2 separate regions of the Homo sapiens genome follow, and region 2 is linked to region 1. Evidence: promoter capture Hi-C in human tissues and cell types (Jung and others, 2019). All regions are on one chromosome and are shown on one strand. The core of a region is centred on a gene start or on the middle of the fragment in contact, and the rest is flanking DNA. Distances in the headings are between cores, read along the strand shown. Region 1 holds the start of APMAP (adipocyte plasma membrane associated protein). Region 2 overlaps NINL (ninein like).

Region 1 (4,835 bases), core at 1,602-4,101:
ATTTATCTAAGTCCTGGTGCAAAGCCCCTTCCTCCAAGAAGACATCTCTGGTCAGTCCCATCTAATAGCACTTGTTCCTCCTTGCAGCCCCAAGGTACCCTGCAGCTCTTCTGCAGCAGTGCTTTATAGTGTCGTTCGTTACGCTTCCTCTCTCCCCTCCAAGATGATAACGCCTGTGCAGGCTGGATCACTGTATTTCACCCTTGTTTTGTCACCGCACTTGGCATCTGGCAGGCTTTCAGGAGATCTCTGTGGAAGGAGTTGAAACAGCATGGGACTGGGAAAAAGCACTGGACTAGAAGTAGGGTTTGCTTCTGGTTTGAGCTGCGAGGCATACTGTGGGCTCCCTGCCAGCATCATGCGCTTCTTCTTCCATGCTGGCAGAGCCTGCTTTTGTTGAGATAAATGCCCTCCACGTGGGCCAGTGTTCCGATGGAAGTGAGCCTCATCCCCAGTGCCAGGGTTGGGTGTGGGTTTTGGTTGGTCTCACTCAGCGCTTCTCAACCAAGGGCTGTTTTGTCCTCCAGGGGCTATCTGTCAATGTCTGGCAACATTTTTTATCATCACGACTAGGTGGGATGCTACTGCCATCTAGTGGGGGAAGCCCAGGGATGCTGCTGAAACACCAGCGCACAGGAGAGGCCCCCCTCCGCCTCCTAACAGAATTATCTGGCCCAAAATATCAGTGGTGCTGAGAAACCTGATCAAATTAATCATAGTGGTCCCATTCCTCTGCCAACAACTGGCATCAGCACGATGAGAAACAAAGTCGGTCTGGTTGGAAGGTGGGGTGGGAGAACTGATAACTGAAACAAATACAACAAGCAAAGCGTGCTTCACCGTGACTTGAAAACAGAAAAACTGTACTGAACCCGTGCTATGCAGCACAAATGATCTAGCTCAGACCACTGTAACACCAACTACCTACGTGCTTCATGATAAGCCCACGAGCTGACCTCCTGATAACTCCGAATGGACTTACATGTCCCAGAGCTAAGGCCACGGTTCCTCCAGTGACTCCCGTTGTTAACGGATTCTGACCAACCCTGGGCAAGACTATCGATGGACTAACTCCAGCCCCCAAACCCCACAAGGAGTCTCCCATGACTCCCCCATTTTGAGGAACCTCACCGGTCCTCTGGTGCATTTCTTTGCTGCAGCAAGTTCAGTAAACCCAACTTACTGCCATTATTTTTCTTCTGAATGTGTCCCTGGGTGTTTGCAGTGCGTGGGCTTTAACACTGGGCATGGAACACAAATAGCTCCAATGCAGTGAGTTCAATGTTATGGCTGGGACATGTTTAAAGTGCCTTGAAGACAAAGAGGAAGATGTTCTGCTTGGGAAACTGGGAGAAGAATTTTCAGCAAGGATACTTGAAGTGGGTCCTGAATGATAAAAATAATTGGCCAAGTGGAGGTGAAGGAGAGTGTATCACAGGAAGAAGGAACCTCAAGGACAAAGGCAGCCAGGCATGAGATTAGACATGTTAAGCCATCCTGAATGTCTGAAATGGGGGGTGGGGAGCAAGAGGGATAGTCCAGACAGGCAGGAAGGCGTGAGATCATACAGTACTTTGTTAACACTATCCCTGATTTAATAGCTGTATTGGCTATTCTCAATGACACAGAATGAAGTAAAATGTTGTCGAGGCCTGAATTATTACCTGGGATCTCTGGAGAACTGGATTTGCACAGCTCTCCACTTCCCTCAAGCTGGTTCTTCCGCTCTTTGAATGAATAAATAAAAAGCATTCACATGGAATTCTAGTGCCATCTAGCATTTAAAAAGGTAAAAGCCTCCAAGAGGAAATTATTTCTTAACACTGCATTTTGAACATGGCTTTTCCAGAGATAATTCCTCGTGCCACTGGTAACGGGCTTTGATTTCTTCTGCCTGTCACTTCCTCCAGATTCGATTCCTCTTTGAATCTCAAATGCTCTCACAAGATTCAGCTCTTCCCTTTTGAAGCAATTATTACGTTTGATAATTTTACGTCTATTTTATGATGATGATCTGATTAAAGTCATCTTTCCCACTAGTTTAATTTCTATAAGGAGGGGCCTTGTCTGTGATTTGCCCACCATCGTCTCCCAGCACCTGGGAACATTTCTGGTTTCCTGCAATACTGTTGAAAGAACAATGCCTCTCTATGCTTTCTTAAACTTTGTTAGTGATAATTTCTACTTCTACCTGGACTTTACTTAAGGGTAATCCTTAATAAACTTTATCAAAACTTAATAAACTTTATCAAAACTTAATAAACTTTATCAAATGTCTGTTGTAATCGTCACAAAAAGATTTAATACTCAACATCTGGCCTTAACCAGAGGGAAACATTTTCTAGCCCAAGTTTTCCCCTTAACCGGCTGAGTCGGGGAAGGATGTAATTTTCAGGCAGAGGTGACTTCGTTCCAAGGGTGTGAATGCATTATTTTTGACGCTGCCTGTAAGAGCAGGGTCGCTGACACTGAATAAACAGCGCTATCCTCTCCAACGATAAAAGTGGCCAACATCTCGTGCTAGCAATTCCCAAGTGCGTCATGAGCATCCCCGTCCTCAGAAACGTGAGACGAAGGCGGCATGCGCAGGCACTGGGCTAGACGAGCCCGAGGTTGAACCACTCGCGTTCTGGGCCCCGGAGTCCGAGACAGGCGGGGACCCCGGCAGCTCCCGGTGCTATCTCTGAGCGGGTTCCGAGCCCCACTTCCGGGCGGTCAGAATTAGCCTCAGAGCGCCGAGCAACGACGCGCCGGGGACCTCCCGCCCATGAGGCCGGAAGGGGCGGGGAGAACGCTGCGGAATGGTCCCTGGGCGCAACGTCATTTCCGCGTACGGGGGAGGGCGGGCCTGGAGTCTGAGCCGGCGCCGCTCAGTGTGAGGTGGTTTCTGCGGGTGAGGCTGGCGCCCGTACCATGAGCGAGGCGGACGGGCTGCGACAGCGCCGGCCCCTGCGGCCGCAGGTCGTCACAGACGATGATGGCCAGGCCCCGGAGGCTAAGGACGGCAGGTAGGGCGGACTCCCAGACTGGGCGCTGGAGCCGGGCCGCTAGGAGTGGAGGGCGACCCTCTTGGACAGCGGCGACGGCAGTAACAGTAACCTGGGGATGCGGTGCCGAGCGCGTTGTCAGAGTCCTCTCGTTTCATCCCCAAGAAAAACTCATTTTTCCGAGGAAGCAGGCTCCGACAAGGCGGATGTACCTGCCAGGTCTTTCAGGTTCGGGTGCACCCTGCGCCCAGTCGCCGCGTTGTCCTCGGCTCTCCGGACCCGAGACCGCCTCGCGCCGCTCCTTTGCCTTCCCTCCCTCACTCCTGCCCCACCCTGCATAGCGGTTGCTTCCTCGCCTTTCCCTCGCTCCCCTCGCGCTGTCCTTCCTTTGGCTTAAATGATCCCCCTGAGCACAGCTACTTGGCCGGGGCCCTGCGTGTTCCTGGTTCCCCGCTCGCAATTTCCCGAAGGGAGGAGGTCCCACGAGATGCTGGGGTCCTGCCTCGTTATCCGGCGAAGAGATGGCTTCTACACTTGCTCTTCTGCACCTGCCCCCCTCACGCTGCGTGACCAGTCCTCACCGCGGTTCTTGGAAAGAGTGGAGAACAGTAGTGACATTGTAGGCAATTTTTGTGAGAATTCAGCCTGGCAGTTTTTCCTGATAGGGATGGAGAAACATAGGAAACTGTAGTTGTTGACACCTAAGAAATATCAGGTTTTGCCCTTTGCCTCCTCTCCCATCTTTCAGAATATAAGAATGCTGTGTTTTGTTAGCTAAAAACTGAATCATGATTCGTAAGCATAGATTTCAATATAAGATACTTAAAATTCACTTTTCAATTCTGTGTCCTGAATTTCATAACTTTTAAGTTTCAGGGAGAATCAAGAGGCCCCATAGACCAAGCTTGAAGTTGTGGGACTGATTGACTTATATTTGATAGAAATACTGGAAATATTTGTTCATCAGTAGTGTGCCAAGAGGTGGTGGGGTACATATGAATGAGAGGCAGTTTTTGCCCCTGTAGACTGAGTTTATTGACTGATGATAAGAGGAACACATTTGAAGGAGAGCGATGGCAGGAAGGAGCATTTAGGCTCTAGAGAGGCAATTTAGAGAGAAGACTTTGCGGTGATAGTTGACTCCTTGGGCCAGTGAAAAGATCGGGAAGATGCTCCCATATATCCTGACCAACCATCCTGCGTTGCCCTGGACTGGGGTTTCCAAGGATGTAGAACTTTCAGTGCTAAACCTGGGCAAACTGGGACAATCTGATCACCCTACTTACTGTGAATATTGTGAATTAATCATCTGTTGATGATTGAGGAGCCATTTAGAATGGACATGCAAGAATTGGCAACACTTTCCTACAGAAATCTTGAAAACAAGGCATTTTTACCTGAGAAATGGAAGAGCAGTGGCCTGAGTTTGTCATTAGGTGCAGTGTGTTGAAAACCAGGGCCTACAGCCCCTGAGGGCACCGGTTAGGTAGTCCCAACTCTCAAGTTGGCTGGCTCACACTTCTGGCCCCAGGGCAAGCAGGCAGACTTAATTGTTTTTTTCAGGTTCTCTGTGGGGATTTCTTCCTTAATGAGTAAGTAAATCTGATTCTAAAGTCATCTTTTACTGCCTGATCTTTTCCAGTGTGCCTTTTACATTTATGTTTACTTATTTCCTTGACTTCCCTGTCCATGAACATTGTTCCTGTTTCCCTGTGTTTGTCCTTCTTGTTTGTTTATCCCTTTTCTGTATATCTGTAATGATCTCTTTCAAAGTGAGGTCTTGTCACCACCCTTCCTTTCCGCAATTATTATTGTAACATGGTAGCTGTTTTTCTTATTTTTCTTCTG
Region 2 (4,835 bases), core at 1,623-4,122, 540 kb before region 1:
TGTATGTTGACATCAACTACCCCGCTCTGTTGCCTTCATCTCCCCATCTCTCTCCTTAGAGGCAACCACATTTCAGTCTTAGATATTTCTCCTGATACTCATGTCCATATCCTAATTGTACTGTTTTATAGCCTACAGAGTATGAGCAAGGTAATTAAACCTCATTCTGCTGTTATTTCTTATACTCTCTAGGCTCCCCAGTGGCCACTGTGCATTTTTGCTGTTGTCACTGCATAACATTGTCCACTGCAGAACCAATAGGTTGGTCATGATTACACTTCTACTCTTTTGCCAGGTTTGGCTTTATGGGCTGATGTTGTCTGGGCTTTTACTGGCTTACCTTTTTTTTTTTTTGGAGACAGTCTTACTCTATCGCCCAGGCTGGAGTGCAGTGGCATGATCTCAGCTTACTGAAAACTCTGCCCCCCAGGCTCAAGCAATTCTCTTGCCTCAGCCTCCTGAGTAGCTGGGATTTTAGGCGCCTGCCACCATGCCCAGCTAATGTTTGTATTTTTTGTATTTTTGTAGAGACAGGATTTCACCATGTTGGCCAGGCTGGTCTTGAACTCCTGACCTCAAGTGATCCACCTGCCTGAGCCTCCCAAAGTACTGGGATTATAGGCGTGAGCCACTGCTCCCAGCCCTGGCTTACTTTTTAATGAATTTATTCTTATTTTTTCCAAATGCTCCATCAGCCTTGTCAAAAGCCTATCCCTATTTTTCTCAAAGGCTCAGTGGGCAGTACACAGCAGTCTGTTGGGGTTGGTCACCTCCCATCCCTGGCCTGGCTGAGCTCCTACACCAAAGCCTCTCGTCTTGGATGGAGCCCAGATCGTGAGCCTGTGTCTTTGACTTTCTTGGTTCACCCCTTATTTTGCCGAAGTGTGTATTCAGCGTGGGTTATATAGTCTCTTGGGTAGGTGGAAAGTCATTTACCCTGAGCACATGGAAGGCCCTGGGTTGGCTCTGAACTTTCAGCCTTGCTGCTGTGGGCATGGTGCCATTCTGATCCCTGTTGCTGTGATGTGGGGCTGCTCTTTCTCTCTGGACATCTGTAGGGCTCACTCGTTAGTTTGCTCTGAAGTTCACAAGGGTGTGCTTGGCGCGGGTGTTTTTCATTTGTTGTCCCAAGCGGAATGACTTTTCCATCTGTGTGCTTGGAAAAGTCTTGTATTATTCTAATCATTTCCCCTTTCCCTTCCCTTGGCTCCCTTTTCTGGGCTTTTCAAGGATGTCGAGAGATTTGGGATTGATTATTTTGCGGGAGAGGGAGGCAAGGAGAAAATCCAGATAAAAGTGCTGTAGGAGAACAGAGTTGGGCAGTTTCAGAAAGCAGGTCACCATATTTTGAACACTTTTCTTTCTTTATTTTTAAAAAATATGTTTTACTTAAATTTAATGGTGGTAAAAAACACAACATGAAATTTACCCTCTTAACCATTGTTAAGTGTACAGTTCTGTAATGTTAACTAGATTCGCTTAGTTTTGTAACAGATCTCTAGAACTTCTCCCCCACCCCAGTTTATGAAGGTATAATTGACAAAAATGCATATATTTATGGTGTACAAAATTATGTTTTGATTCATGTATACATTATAAAATTGTTAAATCTAGCTAATTAACATATCTGTCCCCTCACATACTTAATACTTTTTGTGGTGACATTTAAGATCTACTCTCATAGCAATTTTTGAGTATACAATATGTTATTATTAACTGTAGTCACCACGTTGTACAGTAGATCGCCAGAACTTATTCATGTCTTACCCAAAACTTTGCACCCCTACCCAACAACTCCACAACCCCCGACACCAGCCCCTGGCCACTTCTGTTCACTCGTAGCTTCTCTGCGGCCAGCTGCTCTAGAATCCACATCTGAGTAAGGTCTGTGGCGTTTGTCTCTCTATGCCGGCCTTATTTCACTTAGCGTTAATGTCCTCTAGGCGTATCCATGTTGTTGCAAATGAAAAGATTTTCCTCCTTTTTGAGGTGTAATAATATTTCATTGTACACAGAAGTACAGTGAGTCTTTTGTGTCAGTGGGTTCTACATCTGTGGATTTAACTAACCATGAATCAAAAATGTAGTTAGGCATGTGATGGTTGCCTCTATACTGAACATGTAGAGGCTTTTTGTTTTCTTGTCATTATTCCCTAAACAATATGGTATAACAACTACTTACACAGCATTTACCTTGTCTTAGGTATTATACGTAATCTAGAGGTGATTTAAAGTATACAGGAGGATATGCATAGGTTATAGGCAAATACTACATCATTTTATAGAGGGACTTGAGCATCTGTGATTTTGGTATCCATGAGAGGTCCTGGAACCACCCCCTATGGATATTGAGGGATGACAGTACATATAGTCATATACCACATAACAATATTTCAGTCAGCAATGGACTGCATATACAGTGGTGGTCTCATAAGATTACAATACTCTAGTTCTGTACCTTTTCTATGTTTAGATATGTTTGGATTACCATTGTGTTACAATTGCCTCCAGTGTTCAGTACACGAACCTGCTTGTGGCCTAGGTTTGTGGTAGGCCATGCTATCTTGGTTTGTGTAAGTACACTCTGTGATGTTTGCATAACAACAAAATCACCTAACAACACATTTTCAGAACTTATCACCATTGTTAAGTGATACATGACTGTATCTCTTTGAGATGCTGTTTTCAGTTCTTTTGGTTATTGTCACAAGTGAGCGGCAACTGTCTGGGGCTGGCAGTGCAGGGGTAAGAAGAATTTACCAAGAAAGGCAGAGAGAAAGGAGAAAAATACATTGCAAGGGAGTAACAGGCACAGCAGGAAGAGAGGAGCTGACTGCAAAGAGACAAAGCTTTGTTGGGGATTTTATAGAATAGTGTTTATGCTGCATGCTGAAGAGGGCTTTGTGCAGTACTGATAAGGCCAAGGTTGCAGTGAGCTAACGTGCAGGTGTCTGGTGAGAAGTTGGGCACAGGAGGACTGTGTATCCTGGGCCAGGAAGAAGGACAGACTTAGAGTTTACCTACTTTTCTTTTGGCTTCCCCTGCTCCCACCATCCTGGCCCCGCAGTGCCTTCAAGTTTTCAAGTTTGATGTAGTCCCCTTTGTGTATCTTTGCTTTTGTTGCCTGTGCTTTTAGTGACATATCTAAGAAATCACTGCCAAATCCAACATCATGAAGCTTTCTCTCTGTTTATAAAACTATTACACTATTTTAGTTAAAACTATAAAAAGCTTTATAGTTTTAGGTCTTACATTTAAGGTCTTTGATCCATTTTTGGTAAATTTTACAAAAGTTAATTTTTGTATATTGTAGAAAGCAAGGGTTAAACTGAGTTCTTTTGCTTGTGGATATCTGCAGTTTTCCCTGCAGCATTTATTGGAGAGACAGTCTTTTTCCCGTTTTGTGGTCTTGACACCCTTGTTGAAGATCATTTGTATGCATGGGGGTTGATTTCTGGGGTCTGTATTCTGTTCCATGGGTCTATGTCTGCCTGTGCTGAGACCACACTGATTTGACTACTGTATGGAATTGATTTTTAATTTCCCTTTTTTTCTCTCTCATTTTTTATCTTTATTGTTTAGATACACTTTATAGGAGCTTTCCTTGTCTTCCGATTCTGCTGTTGACGTTTGTTTTGCCACTGTAACATGTCAGTGTCCAGGAAACTTCCCTTGGTCTCGGATCGTTCTTTTTGCCCAGCAGTCTGTTTTGTTTCCTGGCTGAAATGGCTTTCCTCTTTCCTTCTCTGGGTAGTGCAATTTTTCTGTGTGCGCGTGTGTGTGTTTTGGGCTCAGCCCCTTCATTATTCTCCTCTCCCACATCCGCCTGGCATCATCGGCTCCAGACTCCAGGGATTGGAGTGTGTGTGAACATTGGAATTCTAAGCCCCATCTTCAGGCTGCTCCACTGCTTCTGAGACCCTCCACAGTTCTGCGGGGTTCATGGTTTGTCTGCTGTCGTGTTGCCTGGGCTGTGTTCTGGGGCTCTTGGATCCCAGGGCAGCCACTTGAAGCGGCCAGCCTCTCTGCAGCGGGGTTCCTATGTGGCTGAGCCGGGCCGCTTTCCAGGTGAATGCAGTCTTCTGTGGAGCCTTGGAGTTTTTCTAAGCCTTCCTGGCCAGGGTTTCCAACTGCCTCCATTTGCTAAGGTTGGTCATGGGGTATTTGAGAGGTTACGGAAAGACGCTTTGCCCCTCTTCCTGGGGTGAGGGGAGGACAGGTTCTATCGGGTGTATGGGAGGAGACAGTACCTCCTCGTTTCCTTTATTTTGAAAATGTGGCTGGATATTGTCTTGGATAGGGGTTAGGCCATATGCTGGCAAATTGTCACAGAAAGGTCTTTGACTGGCTTGTAGACCTGCTGTGTCTGACTCACCTGCTTGCCCGCACCTGACTCACCAATAGGTGAAGCAGCTGCTCTCTGGGCAGAGTCTGAGACGCAGGAGTTAGGGAGAGGAGAGGAGAGGAGCGGCTCTGAATGCTCAGTAACTCAGCCATGGGCTTTGAGAAGGCTCAGTGCAGCCTTGAGAAGTGGTGGGGGCTGCCTGTATTTCCCTGCTCACATGGGGACAGTGGAGCAGAGCTGCAGATCCCCTTGGGGGCTGGCTGGTCAGATGGGTGGGCTCCCCCTACTGCCTATGCCATGAGCCTGCAAAGACAGGGCCAGAGGGGACCGCTGTTTGCCAGACGCCAGCCCTGCTGGCCAGCCCTCCTGTGGATGCTTTATTCGTAGTCATACGGGAATTGAAGCTCCTTCCCTCTTCTGGAAATCCTAGCCCAGCCTCGAAAACGTGAATCTGGGGCTCTGGGAGGAAGGGAAGCGGTGTGGCTGGGGC

The links. The method cuts DNA at HindIII sites, captures the fragments that hold promoters and counts their contacts. A contact is called where the count stands out against the background at its distance.
Region 2: a fragment that was not itself captured here is called in contact with the fragment with the promoter of APMAP in region 1 in 2 of the 25 tissues and cell types used here (aorta and hippocampus).

What each region holds. Positions count from the first base shown.
Region 1 is chr20:24,990,767-24,995,601 of GRCh38, reverse strand. It overlaps APMAP (adipocyte plasma membrane associated protein), which reads left to right and starts at 2,851. Exons shown (of 9, transcript NM_020531.3): 1 at 2,851-3,008. The coding sequence starts at 2,914. RefSeq lists enhancers at 2,297-2,797, 2,710-2,949, 3,080-3,159, 3,180-3,239, 2,798-3,298 and 1 more. The HindIII fragment of the contact is 14,400 bases long and covers 1-4,670 here.
Region 2 is chr20:25,532,237-25,537,071 of GRCh38, reverse strand. All of the region lies in intron 1 of NINL (ninein like), which reads left to right. Among named protein-coding and RNA genes, the nearest start is that of NINL, 51 kb to the left of the region's middle. RefSeq lists an enhancer at 3,509-4,509. The HindIII fragment of the contact is 6,083 bases long and covers 1-4,835 here.